Regions from separate parts of the Homo sapiens genome. Here all the other regions are linked to region 3. The links are contacts of gene promoters, found by promoter capture Hi-C in blood cells and fetal thymus (Javierre and others, 2016). All regions are on one chromosome and are shown on one strand. Each heading gives the region's core, a stretch centred on a gene start or on the middle of the fragment in contact. The rest is flanking DNA. Distances are from core to core; before and after follow the strand shown. Region 1 overlaps DCLRE1C (DNA cross-link repair 1C). Region 2 overlaps SUV39H2 (SUV39H2 histone lysine methyltransferase). Region 3 holds the start of ACBD7 (acyl-CoA binding domain containing 7). Region 4 overlaps HSPA14 (heat shock protein family A (Hsp70) member 14).

Region 1 (2,700 bases), core at 16-2,515, 180 kb after region 3:
GGTAGAATTTTGGAGTCATATAGTTGGCTTGGGCTGCCCTAAGAAAATAACACATACTAGGTAGCTTAAACAGGAGGCCAGGCATAGTGGCTCACGCCTATAATCCCAGCACTTTGGGAGGCCGAGGCGGATGGATCACCTGAGATCAGGAGTTCAAGACCAACCTGGCCAACATGGTGAAAACTTGTCTCTGCTTAAAAAAAAAGTAAAAATTAGGCTGGGCACAGTGGCTCAAGCCTGTAATTCTAGCACTTAGGCAGATCAAGTCTCCAGCCTTATGATGGTTTAATTATTTCCCTAGAGGTCCATCTCTAGATAACAGCCACACTGGCTTTAGGGCTTCCACATATGAATTTTGACAGGAAGCGTTCAGTTCATAACATATGGTCAATCTGTTTTAACACTCCAAGGAACTGCCAAACATTCCCACACTGAATACATTTTACATTCTCTCCGGCAATATGTAAAGATTCCAGTTCCTTCACATATTAGCCAACACTTCCGTCTTTTTTAGTATAGCCATCCTAGTGTATGGTGGTACCCTGCAGTTTTGATTTGCATTTCTCTAATGACTAATGTTGAGCTTTCTTTCATGTGCTTATTGGCCATTTATGTAACTTCTTCAGTGAAATGTCTATTCTGATCTTTTGCCCCCATTTCAACTGGATTATTGACCTTTGTATTGAGTTGTAAGAGTTAAAGTCTGGTATCAGTCCTTTATCTGACATGATTAGGAAATATTTTCTCAGACTTGTCTTTTCACCTTCTTGATGGTGTCTTGAAGCGTAAAGGTTTTAAGTTAAATTTGTCTATTTTTTTCTTTTATTGCATATGCTTTGGTGTCATATCTAAGAAACTATTTGATCCAAGATCATGAAAATTGACTCCCATGTTACATAATTTTACAGTCAGTTTTGACTGTATCTTCCTGCTTCTTGAATTTCTGATAATTTGTTTTTGAATGCCATACATTCTGAATTTTACCTTTTTAGGTCCTGCATAATTTTGGGATTTCTAAAAACATTCTTGAGCTTTGTTCTGGCATGTGGTTAGCATGTTTATAGTTTGATCTTTTCGTGTCTTTTACCTTTGTTATGCAGGAACAGAGTAGCATTTAGTATATGGTTAATTTTCCCCACTACTGAGGCAAGGCTCTTCTTGGTTCTTTTACAAATGCCCATGGATCATGAGGTTTTCCACTCTGGCTGTTGGGACCAGGACAAGACACTGTTCCTGGCACGGTGAGTTCTGGGCACTTTCTTTCCTTTTGTTTGAGTGATTCGTTGCCTGGCTGCAGGTAGTTTCCTTACAAGCACATGCTGCTTAGTGCACTGAACACGTGGTGGGGACGCCTCTGCAGCTTTTCAGAGTTTCTGTGCAGCACTCTCCTCTCTGGTCTTCTGCTCTGTAAACTCCAGGTACATTTATTTCTTCAATGTTCCACTTCCACCTCACATCAAGGATGTCCATGGGCTCTATCCAGATGTTCCCTCCCTGACTGGAATCTGTTATGAAGCAGGGAGTCAGGCAATCATAGGACTCATCTGTGTCTTATTTCTCATGTCATTGTCCTTAATTGCTCGATGTCCATTTTCTTGAGAGATAGTTTCTGATTTTTCGTTATTTCAAGTGGGAGGTTAAATCTAGTCCGTTACTCCATCTTACCTGGAAGCAAAAGTCCTTTCTTCCTTTAATCTTTTGTGCCTTTTATGCATCTACCCAATCCACACTCCTTTTTGATAAATGTCTTTTGGGATCAGGCATAGTCACTGATTTGGAATGCAGAACTGTTCAACTTAGAGATCATACAAAAATATTTCATAAAAAGGTAATTTTGGGCTAGGCAAAGTGGCTCATGCCTCTAATTCCAGCAATTTGGGAGGCCGAGGGGGTGGATTGCCTGAGTGCAGGAGTTCAAAACCAACCTGGGCAACAAGGGGAAACACTGTCTAAAAAAAATTAGCTGGGCATGGGGGTGGATCTCCTGAGCCTGAGAGGTAGAGGCTGAACTGTGACTGTATAAAACTCAAAAAACAACTTTGGCATAGTAGTGAGGGACCTAAAACATACATATGATCTTTGGCTTAAAATCTACATTCTGCAGTCTAGGATGATTCCAAATACAGTCGTTAGATATCTTAGTGACCTTAAGCCCTAAGTTCAGTTACAAGTCATAACACTGAACCTTTAAGAATGAGGTTGGGTCGTGTGTATTGGCACACCCTTTTCTCTGGGCCTAGCTTCACACGGGGAACATGGGAGCTGGATAATGGTCTCTATGGTCCTTTATATTAGTGTCTTAAAAATGCAGTGTTTAGCCACATCATTTAAGTGGATTATTATAACACCAGATTCAGCAGTAGAACAAGAAGTTGCCATACACAGTAGTCTTGGGTGCATTTAACTTTCTTCCTAGGTTAGATACTGTTACAAGATGGGAAAATATTTGTTTTTCTAAGTAAGGCTTTTTTCATTTTAAGAACATTTGTTGACACAGCATGCTTATTAATGTTTTGAATTTTAAGTTCTTGACACGTTGATTATTCAGTATTTTGCTTTAAAGTTGATTTAACCTGTTGCAACCTTGTGCATAAAACATGTCAATAAGATGCTCACAGAAGAAAAACCTTAATAAAAAGCAATTTAATTTTCCTAAGTCAGCCAACCCACTGAGCATCTACTATTTGCAGAGCACACAGG
Region 2 (2,700 bases), core at 6-2,505, 200 kb after region 3:
AATCCACAAAACCAGTTATCCTGTTGTTATTTTGCTTAAAAACTGTTAATGGTTTCCACCCTGCCTAGGGAACAAAGTTCAAAGTTCCTCTTTTCAGAAAGCAAGCCACTCTGGAACTGTTCCCTGATGCCTCTCTGGCTCCATCTTCCATCATGGCCCCATTCACACAACACACACTGGCCACAATGAACAACTTGCCAGGCCTTTTGATGCCCCTGCTGCTTTGTTCACAAAGTTCTCCCTAATTAGGAGGGCCTTTCCCACTGGTCCAATGAATGCTCATCTCATCTTTTAAAACGGTGTAAATATCACCTCTTCTATGAAGTCTTTCCTGTCTCTCATACCCAAGAAGAACTGATCACCATCAACTCCTTTTTGTTCCAATTTCCAATTTAAACTCTAAGTTATTTGCGGGAAGGGATGGAATCTTATTTTTTATAGCCCCCAAATGAGCACAACTGCCCACCATATCTTAGGCTGTGACTAAATGTTTCTGAATGTATAACAAAAAAATAGGAGTACCAAAAGGTATGTAATATACAAATCACAACAATAACTGTATGAGTTCTTAAAGGAAATACAAGCTGATAAACTTGGAGGTAGCAATTCACGGTTTCTCAATATTTGTCACCTGCTGTCTATAGCCAACAAGTGGCAGCAAACACCAAAACTTTAAAAGAAACATATGAGAAGACAAAGTACAAAAAAATTTTGTCTTTCCACTAGGTAATTTTTTCTGCCAATTTTGAAATAATCATCATATTCAATATCAGTGTTAAAATAACCTGCATCTGGCTGGGCACAGTGGCTCACTTTGGGAGGCTGAGGCAGGAGGATTGCTTGAGCCCAGGAGTTGGAGACCAGCCTGGACAATATAGTGAGACCTTGTCTCTACAAATTAGCAGCATGTGGTGGCACATGCCTGTGGTCTTAGCTACTCAAGAGGCGGAGATGCGAGGATCGTTTGAGCCTGGGATGTCAAGGCTGCAGTGAGCCAAGATCAGGCTACTGCACTCCAGCTTGGGCAACAGAGTGAGACCCTGTCTCTAAATAAATAACTGGAATTTGATTATGAAAACACCAGTGGTTCCATGGGAGCATAGTCTGAGAACTATTATAGTCAATGGAAAAATCACTGAATTTTCATGCCAGTAAGAGTAGGAATTGTGATAGCTGGGTTAGACACCCAGAATTGAAAAAAGTGAGCCACATGACATTGATTGTTAAAGTATTTTCTTAGAGCTGTAATTTCCTGATCTCTCAAATACAGGTTGTAGTATAATGATTTCTGTTATTCTAGTTCTTAACCACTCTAGGTTCAATCAGTGTTTCAGGAATATCACTATATTGTCAGATGTGGACTATCATTAATTTGTGCCACGCCATATAGAGGTGGTTCTCGAAACACAAAAGTACCTGTATACTTTAAGAAACCAAAGCTATAGGCAATATTTGTTGCTCAGCTTACTAAGCTATGTGCATGTCCATCAATGTGTACAGAGGATCTTGTTCTTAACTGAACTATCTTAAATACCCATAGTTTTGTCAGAAATTATTCTGTATGAAGGGGTGATGTAGCAACAATAATGCTGCAGAAAAATCACCTTGCATTGAGACTCAATACTACTACAATTAACACCCTTTAAGTTCAACTTGACCCTTCACATGAATTCATAATAGTAACAACCCTTTTTCCTGCCCCCACAGAATTTTTTCCATTTCTCAAGTTGGCTATTTTAGACCTCCTCCACTTTGCTCAAGGTTCCCACCCCTACCTCCTGTGTTATTTTCAGTGATGTATGACCTTTGTTACTAATGCAAAGAGAAAATGGAAACCACCAGGCATTAACTGCCTTAACTGCCAGCCTTCCATGGCCATGGAGCTAGAGATAAGGTGGATGCAGACATGAAAAGAGAGACGCACTTCCTCGGTCAATTCTTCTTGTCTCTTCAGTATCTCCCTCTGCTGGTTCTCACTAGCATTTAAACAGGCTCCATTTTTAAAAAGCAAAATAAAACTAAACCTCCTCTGAGATATAAACTTTTGTATATGTAGGGAATCTCTAAAAGACATATTAAGTTGCTAAGACAGAGACTGAAACTAGGTCATGGGGTAGATGTCAGTATCTGACCTTTTATAACATTCATTTTCTAAAACTACATGCATAATACCTCCTCAAAATTAAAAAAAAATTACTATCACAATGGTCTTTTCAAAAAAACTTGAAAAAAATTATAAACACCCTTATACCCATGTAGCCCTCTCGTTTTCTTGAAAGCTAGGATTCATGGAAGAATTGTCCATACTACTTGACTCTACTTTCTTACCTCCGGTTAATTTTTTTTTTTTTTTTGAGACAGAGTTTCACTCTTGTAGCCCAGGCTGGAGTGCAATGGCACGATCTCAGCTCACTGCAACCTCTGCCTCCTGGATTCAAGCTATTCTCCTGCCTCAGCCTCTCAAGTAGCTGGGATGACACGAATGTGCCACCACGCCCGGCTAATTTTGTATTTTTAGTAGAGACAGGGTTTCTCCATGTTGGTCAGGCTGATTCGAACTCCCGACCTCAGGTGATCCGCCTGCCTCAGCCTCCCAAAGTGCTGGGATTACAGGCGTGAGCCACTGCACCCGGCCTGGTTCATTCTTTAATTCATTCCTTTGGCTCTTCTCAGAGGTGCTCTAAGGGCATCAGTGACCCT
Region 3 (2,700 bases), core at 49-2,548:
GAATAGGCGTTTAGTCCTGTGCCTTTACCATAATTAAAAACAAGTTAAGCTGATTATAGCATGTGTCCAGAATTTAGGTGGTTTTGCTTTATAAAGAGAAGAGGTGCAAACCACAGGCCACTTTCTCTCATGATAAACAGCGCCTGGAGGCAGCGTGGAGGAGACACATCCATCATCCACGTTTCTAGGAATAATGGACATGAGAGAAGTATGTATAAAGAAGGAATCCTGTGCTTCGGGAAGCCGAGGTGGGAGGATCGCTTGAGGTCAGGAGTTCGAGACCAGCCTGGGCAACCTAGTGAGACGCCCCCCCCACCACCTCTCTTAAAAAAAAAAAAAACACATATATATATATTTTTTAATTTGCACTTTTAATTTATAAAATTTTTAATTTTTAACATTTTAAATATATATAAATTTATATATAATTTTTAGAGAAAAAATATATAATATATATATACCTAGGAAGACCCCAACCTCTGAAAAAAATTTATATATATAAATTTTTAATTTATAAAATTTTAAATACATATTTACTTATTCTTTTTTTTTTTTGAGACGGAGTTTCACACTTGTTGCCCAGGCTGGAGTGCAATGGTGCAATCTTGGCTCACCACAGCCTCCACCTCCCGGGTTCAAGCGATTCTCCTGCCTCAGCCTCCCGAGTAACTGGGATTACAGGTATGCGCCACCACACCCGGCTAATTTTGTATTTTTAGTAGAGACAGGGTTTCTCCATGTTGGTCAGGCTGGTCTCGAACTCCCGACCTCAGGTGATCTGCCGGCCTCAGCCTCCCAAAGTGTTGGGATTACAGGCGTGAGGCACCGCGCCCGGCCAATACATATTTACATGTATAAATTTTTTTAAATTGAAAAAATTACATATGTATTTTAAGAGAGTTGGGGCGGGTCTCTCTAGATAAATATATATCTCTCTCTCTATATATATATATATTTTTTCTCTCTCTCTCTCTCTCTCTGTCTCTCTCCTTCTTTCTTTCTTTCGAAGGCATTCCAGGGGAGGCCTGTGCCCTACGGAGACCTCTCTGGGTTTCCTGCAAAGAACCGCTTGAGAAAGAATAGAAGAGAGAGCCAAGAGCGGAGAGAAACTCATTTAAATTCTCCTGTCTTCGCCTTTCCATTTGCAGCCTGGGGAACCCGGCGTGCAGTACCGCTCACCGCCCAGCCTCGCCCCCGCGCCCGCGACCAATGGGAGGCGGCCGGGCCGGGAGCGCGGCCAATGGCAGCGGCCGGAGGAGACGCGGCCGTTTAAGAAGCGGTGGGTGCGAGAGGGGGCAGAGCACCGGACGACAACAGCAGCAGCAACAACGCGGCAGCCGCCACCATGGCCCTGCAGGTACCCGGGGCGCGGGGAGGCCACGCGGGAGGGGCGCTCCGCGAGGGGAGTGCTTAAGTGGGGCTCCGGGTGGGCTTGGCGCCCCTGGGAGCGGTCGGCGGTGACCCGGGGGACACGCCCACTCCTTCCCCAGCGCCCCAGATGGCAGTGTAGACCGCACCTGTGCCTGCTGACGGCGAGCCAGGGCTCCCAGGGCAACCCTTCCGGACCCCAGGGGCCGGGTGAGCGGAAAAGCAGGCAAGGCAGGAGCGCCGGGGAGCACGGAGCGGGCCTCCTCCTCTCCGTCTCCGAGAGGGAGTCGAGATCCCCCGCTCCCGCCCCTTCGCTCGTTGGGACCTCCAGGACCTCTCTTAGTGTCATACTGAGCAGAAGAGATCTGTGAGGCTCCAATTTAAAAATACTGTTTTATAGGTATGTGAAAAAAATTGTTAAGGGTGGAAAACTTTGGAAAAGACAACAAATATAAAGTAATAATTACTGATAATAATCCAATGATAATTCCTTCACCCAGGTGATAATCACTGCTACATGCTAGGGTAATTCCTAGTATGTCCTAGTATGTTATTTTCCATGTGTGTATGTGTGTGGCATATATCTACACACATACCTATGATGTTATTGTGTATATAGTTTTATTCCTACACGTAAAACAGTAATATGAGCATTTTCTCATTATTAAATATTCTAAAATGTAATTTTATTTTTCTTTTTTGAGACAGAGTCTCATTCTGTTGCCCAGGTTGAGGCGCAGTTGGTGCGATCTCTGCTCACTGCAACCTCTGCTCACTGCAACCTCCACCTCCCAGGTGTAAGCGATTCTCATGTCTCAGCCTCCGCAGTAGCTGGGGTTACAGGTGCACGCCACCACGCCCGGCTGATTTTTGTAATTTTTTTTTTTTTTTTTTAAGATGGAGTCTCATTCTGTCACCCAGGCTGTTTGAGATGGAGTCTCACTCTGTCACCCAGGCTGGAGTGCAGTGGTGCAATCTCAGCTCACCGCAACCTCCGCCTCCCAAGTTCAAGTGATTCTCCTATCTCAGCCTCCCAAATAGCTGGGATTATAGGCGTGCGCCGCCACTCCTGGCTATTTTTCTCTATTTTTAGTGGAGATGGGGTTTCGCTGTGTTGGCCAGACTGGTCTCCAACTCCTGACCTCAAGTGATCCACCCGCCTTGGACACCCAAAGTGCTGGGATTTCAGGCGTGAGCCACCACGCCCGGCCTCTAAAATGTAATCTTTTACATGCACAAAATTTCATAGAACGTGGCTCACTTCTTTAACCATTTCAGTCAGGCAAGACGTTATCCTGCGTAAAGTTGTAATACATACTTCAGGGCCATCTG
Region 4 (2,700 bases), core at 8-2,507, 230 kb after region 3:
CTATAAACCTTATAGATATTAAAGCATACTTTTATGGTTGAAATCTTTGTGACAAAGGCAAAATTTCCCTAATGAAAAATTATAAATTTCATTTCCTTCTTAATTACTGATTAATAAAGCAAATATATACCGAGGACTTGGACAAACTTAACCCTAAGGAATTCTGGAACTAGAAAAATACACATACTCTGTCCAAAAAGAGATTCTAATTCAATGCAATGCCTTTTCTATCTTTTGAGTTGTAGCCTGAACTCTTTCTTCAAAGATCTGGAGCATAGCTGTCCAACAGGACTTTCTACCAGTCACTAGCCACATGACTACTGAACATTTGAACTGCAGCTAGTGCTACTGAGGAACTGCATTTTTAATGTTATCCTAATTAAGTTAAATTTAAGCAGCCACAGGTGGCTAGTGGCTCTTTTATTGGGCAGTGCAGATCTAGAGTCTTCATGAAGGCCCGGGGAAAGTGAAGAAGCTAAACTAAACAGATGAAAAGAGAATTTAACCAAATACAGTCACTAGAATCCTAAAAAAATATATACTGCAGTCTTGGAAATTTTCACTATGCTTCAAAGTCACCTATTATGTTGTTGAGAGGTTTGAATAGGCCGTATCATTATTATTAGCAAATATGCAACACAAAGACTACAGCACGTCCTCCCTTTGTACTTTATCACTTGTAGGATCTAGGTTGAAGGTTCTAGGATGCCTTTGCACACTCCTAATTGTAGCCATAAAATAACAGGGCAAGCAATCACAACTTATGTAATTACTCTGGTAACAGCTATTTAGTCTGACAAAAACTGGACCCCAATAAAGTGAAGACATTATAGATGGTTGATAAATCTCAAACAAACAAACAAAAAACCCAAAGTAAGAAAATTATACCTAAACAAACATGTTCTTGGAATTTTTTAAAAAAGTTTTTTGAACTTCAGTTTTACCTGGACACATTGCAATCAAAATCTTGACCTTCATATAATGAGTCAAGAAAACAGTTGGCACTTCCCAAGGTTGACAAAGAATGTTTCGCTACTTCAGCACTGTTCGTTAATTTCATCATGGCTCGCGCATTTCCTCTCACATCATGTTTGAAGGATCTAAATTAAAAACATAGCCTTTGGGGTTTAAAATTACTGGGCCATTTACAATATTGTAACTAAGATCTGGATAATCCTTATTAAAACAATAATAAATTAGTGAATCAGGCCGGGTGCGGTGGCTCACGCGTGTAATCCCAACTTTGGGAGGCTGAGATGGGTAGATCACCTGAGGTCAGGAGTTCAAGATCAACCAGGGCCAACATGGTGAAACCCCATCTCTACTAAAAATACAAAATTAGCTGGGTGTGGTGGTGCATGCCTGTAATCCCAGCTACTTGGGAGGCTGAGGCAGAAGAATCGCTTGAACCTGGGAGGTGGAGATTGCAGTGAGCCGAGATTGCACCACTGCACTCCAACCTGGGCGACAAGAGCAAAACTCTGTCTCAAAATAAATAAATAAATAAAATAAATTAGTGAAACAATATTTTATTCCGGATTTTAGTATTTCTCTTCTAATCCCTCTAAACTTTCCTAAAACACTCTGTGCAATTAAAGGGGTCACCTCAAGAAAAATGAATTACCAATTTCCTTAATACTCTGAATTGCTACATTATGTAACCATGAACTGCTGCATTATATAATTGTAATAATAGACTGTACTCTGAAGAAAGTAGAGTAGATATCACCCTTTTCCAGGTGAGACACAGAGGTTAAAGGAGATAAGGAGATTTATGTAAGAGCGTCAAAGTCTCCTATTTTACCCTTTATAATCACAGCACAATCACTGTTTAATGGCATAAAATTATTTGTCAAGCATTAAAAAGAAAAAACAACCTACAAGTGTTTCTTCAAAAAAATTTGACACATACAACAAAATATGTAAAATTACATTCCACTATCTCCAATATGAGTTCATGTTTAAAACTACTTACTAAGTAGTGATCAATGACTTCATTTAAACAACATCTTTGTAACAAAAAGCAGTATAGGTCTTTATCAAACAAGTGAGACATTATGACTTTTTCAAGACTTCTTCAACCAATTAGGTTAGTCAAACTGGCTAAAATACCATTTCAATTACACTTTTTTTTTTTTTTAGAGCAGCAGTACCCAAAGTATAACCTTTACATATCTGACTTTTGTAACATCCAAAAGGGTTAGAATTTTAGAGTAATTATATCCAGTAACAAGACTGAAATATTCCTAGCAGCAGATGAGTAATTAAGATAAATATTCCATAAGACAATAACTCACTGGAATATGAAGATAACATAATGCAATCTTCACCAGAGCCAAACTTTTAAAAACTGTTCAGAAGGCAATGAAGCCTCAGTGCCTATACACTCCTTTAACCAGACAGAAGAGCACTACATGAAGAATTAAAATCTACGTTCATGCAGTTCAGTATCTGACGGTCTCTTTACACTAAGTGAAAAATCCAAGCACACTGCACTAGGCAGCCTGGCCTCTGCTTCTTTGAATTGCCTGGACAGGACATAACTCTAGATATGAAAATATCCAGTTTCCAAGCAATGAAAAAACCACATCCTCCTTTGCAGCAGGATAACTTAAAATAAATTAGGAAAAAAAATTAAAATATGTGAAGGAAAACCTCAATCAGAAGGTATTATTCAGGCCATTAACACTCACCTTTGGA

What was found. Contacts are between HindIII fragments. The CHiCAGO score rates a contact against its expected background, and 5 or more counts as called.
Region 1: a fragment that was not itself captured here is called in contact with the fragment with the promoter of ACBD7 in region 3 in 1 of 17 cell types (monocytes); the score reaches 5.4 in monocytes.
Region 2: a contact is called between a fragment that was not itself captured here and the fragment with the promoter of ACBD7 in region 3, in 2 of 17 cell types (neutrophils and monocytes). The highest score is 6.4, in neutrophils.
Region 4: a fragment that was not itself captured here is called in contact with the fragment with the promoter of ACBD7 in region 3 in 1 of 17 cell types (neutrophils); the score reaches 5.5 in neutrophils.

Annotation. Positions count from the first base shown.
Region 1 is chr10:14,909,731-14,912,430 of GRCh38, reverse strand. All of the region lies in intron 13 of DCLRE1C (DNA cross-link repair 1C), which reads left to right. Among named protein-coding and RNA genes, the nearest start is that of SUV39H2, 32 kb to the right of the region's middle. The HindIII fragment of the contact is 4,483 bases long and covers 1-2,700 here.
Region 2 is chr10:14,888,758-14,891,457 of GRCh38, reverse strand. The region is part of intron 2 of SUV39H2 (SUV39H2 histone lysine methyltransferase); the gene reads right to left. Among named protein-coding and RNA genes, the nearest start is that of SUV39H2, 11 kb to the right of the region's middle. The HindIII fragment of the contact is 6,653 bases long and covers 1-2,700 here.
Region 3 is chr10:15,087,374-15,090,073 of GRCh38, reverse strand. It overlaps ACBD7 (acyl-CoA binding domain containing 7), which reads left to right and starts at 1,298. Exons shown (of 4, transcript NM_001039844.3): 1 at 1,298-1,357. The coding sequence starts at 1,346. ACBD7-DCLRE1CP1 (ACBD7-DCLRE1CP1 readthrough) reads left to right here and starts at 1,298. Exons shown (of 8, transcript NR_144471.1): 1 at 1,298-1,357. RefSeq lists a silencer at 1,124-1,513. The HindIII fragment of the contact is 6,812 bases long and covers 1-2,700 here.
Region 4 is chr10:14,852,525-14,855,224 of GRCh38, reverse strand. It overlaps HSPA14 (heat shock protein family A (Hsp70) member 14), which reads right to left. Exons shown (of 14, transcript NM_016299.4): 8 at 2,694-2,700; 9 at 945-1,100. Among named protein-coding and RNA genes, the nearest start is that of MSANTD7, 16 kb to the right of the region's middle. The HindIII fragment of the contact is 3,163 bases long and covers 1-2,700 here.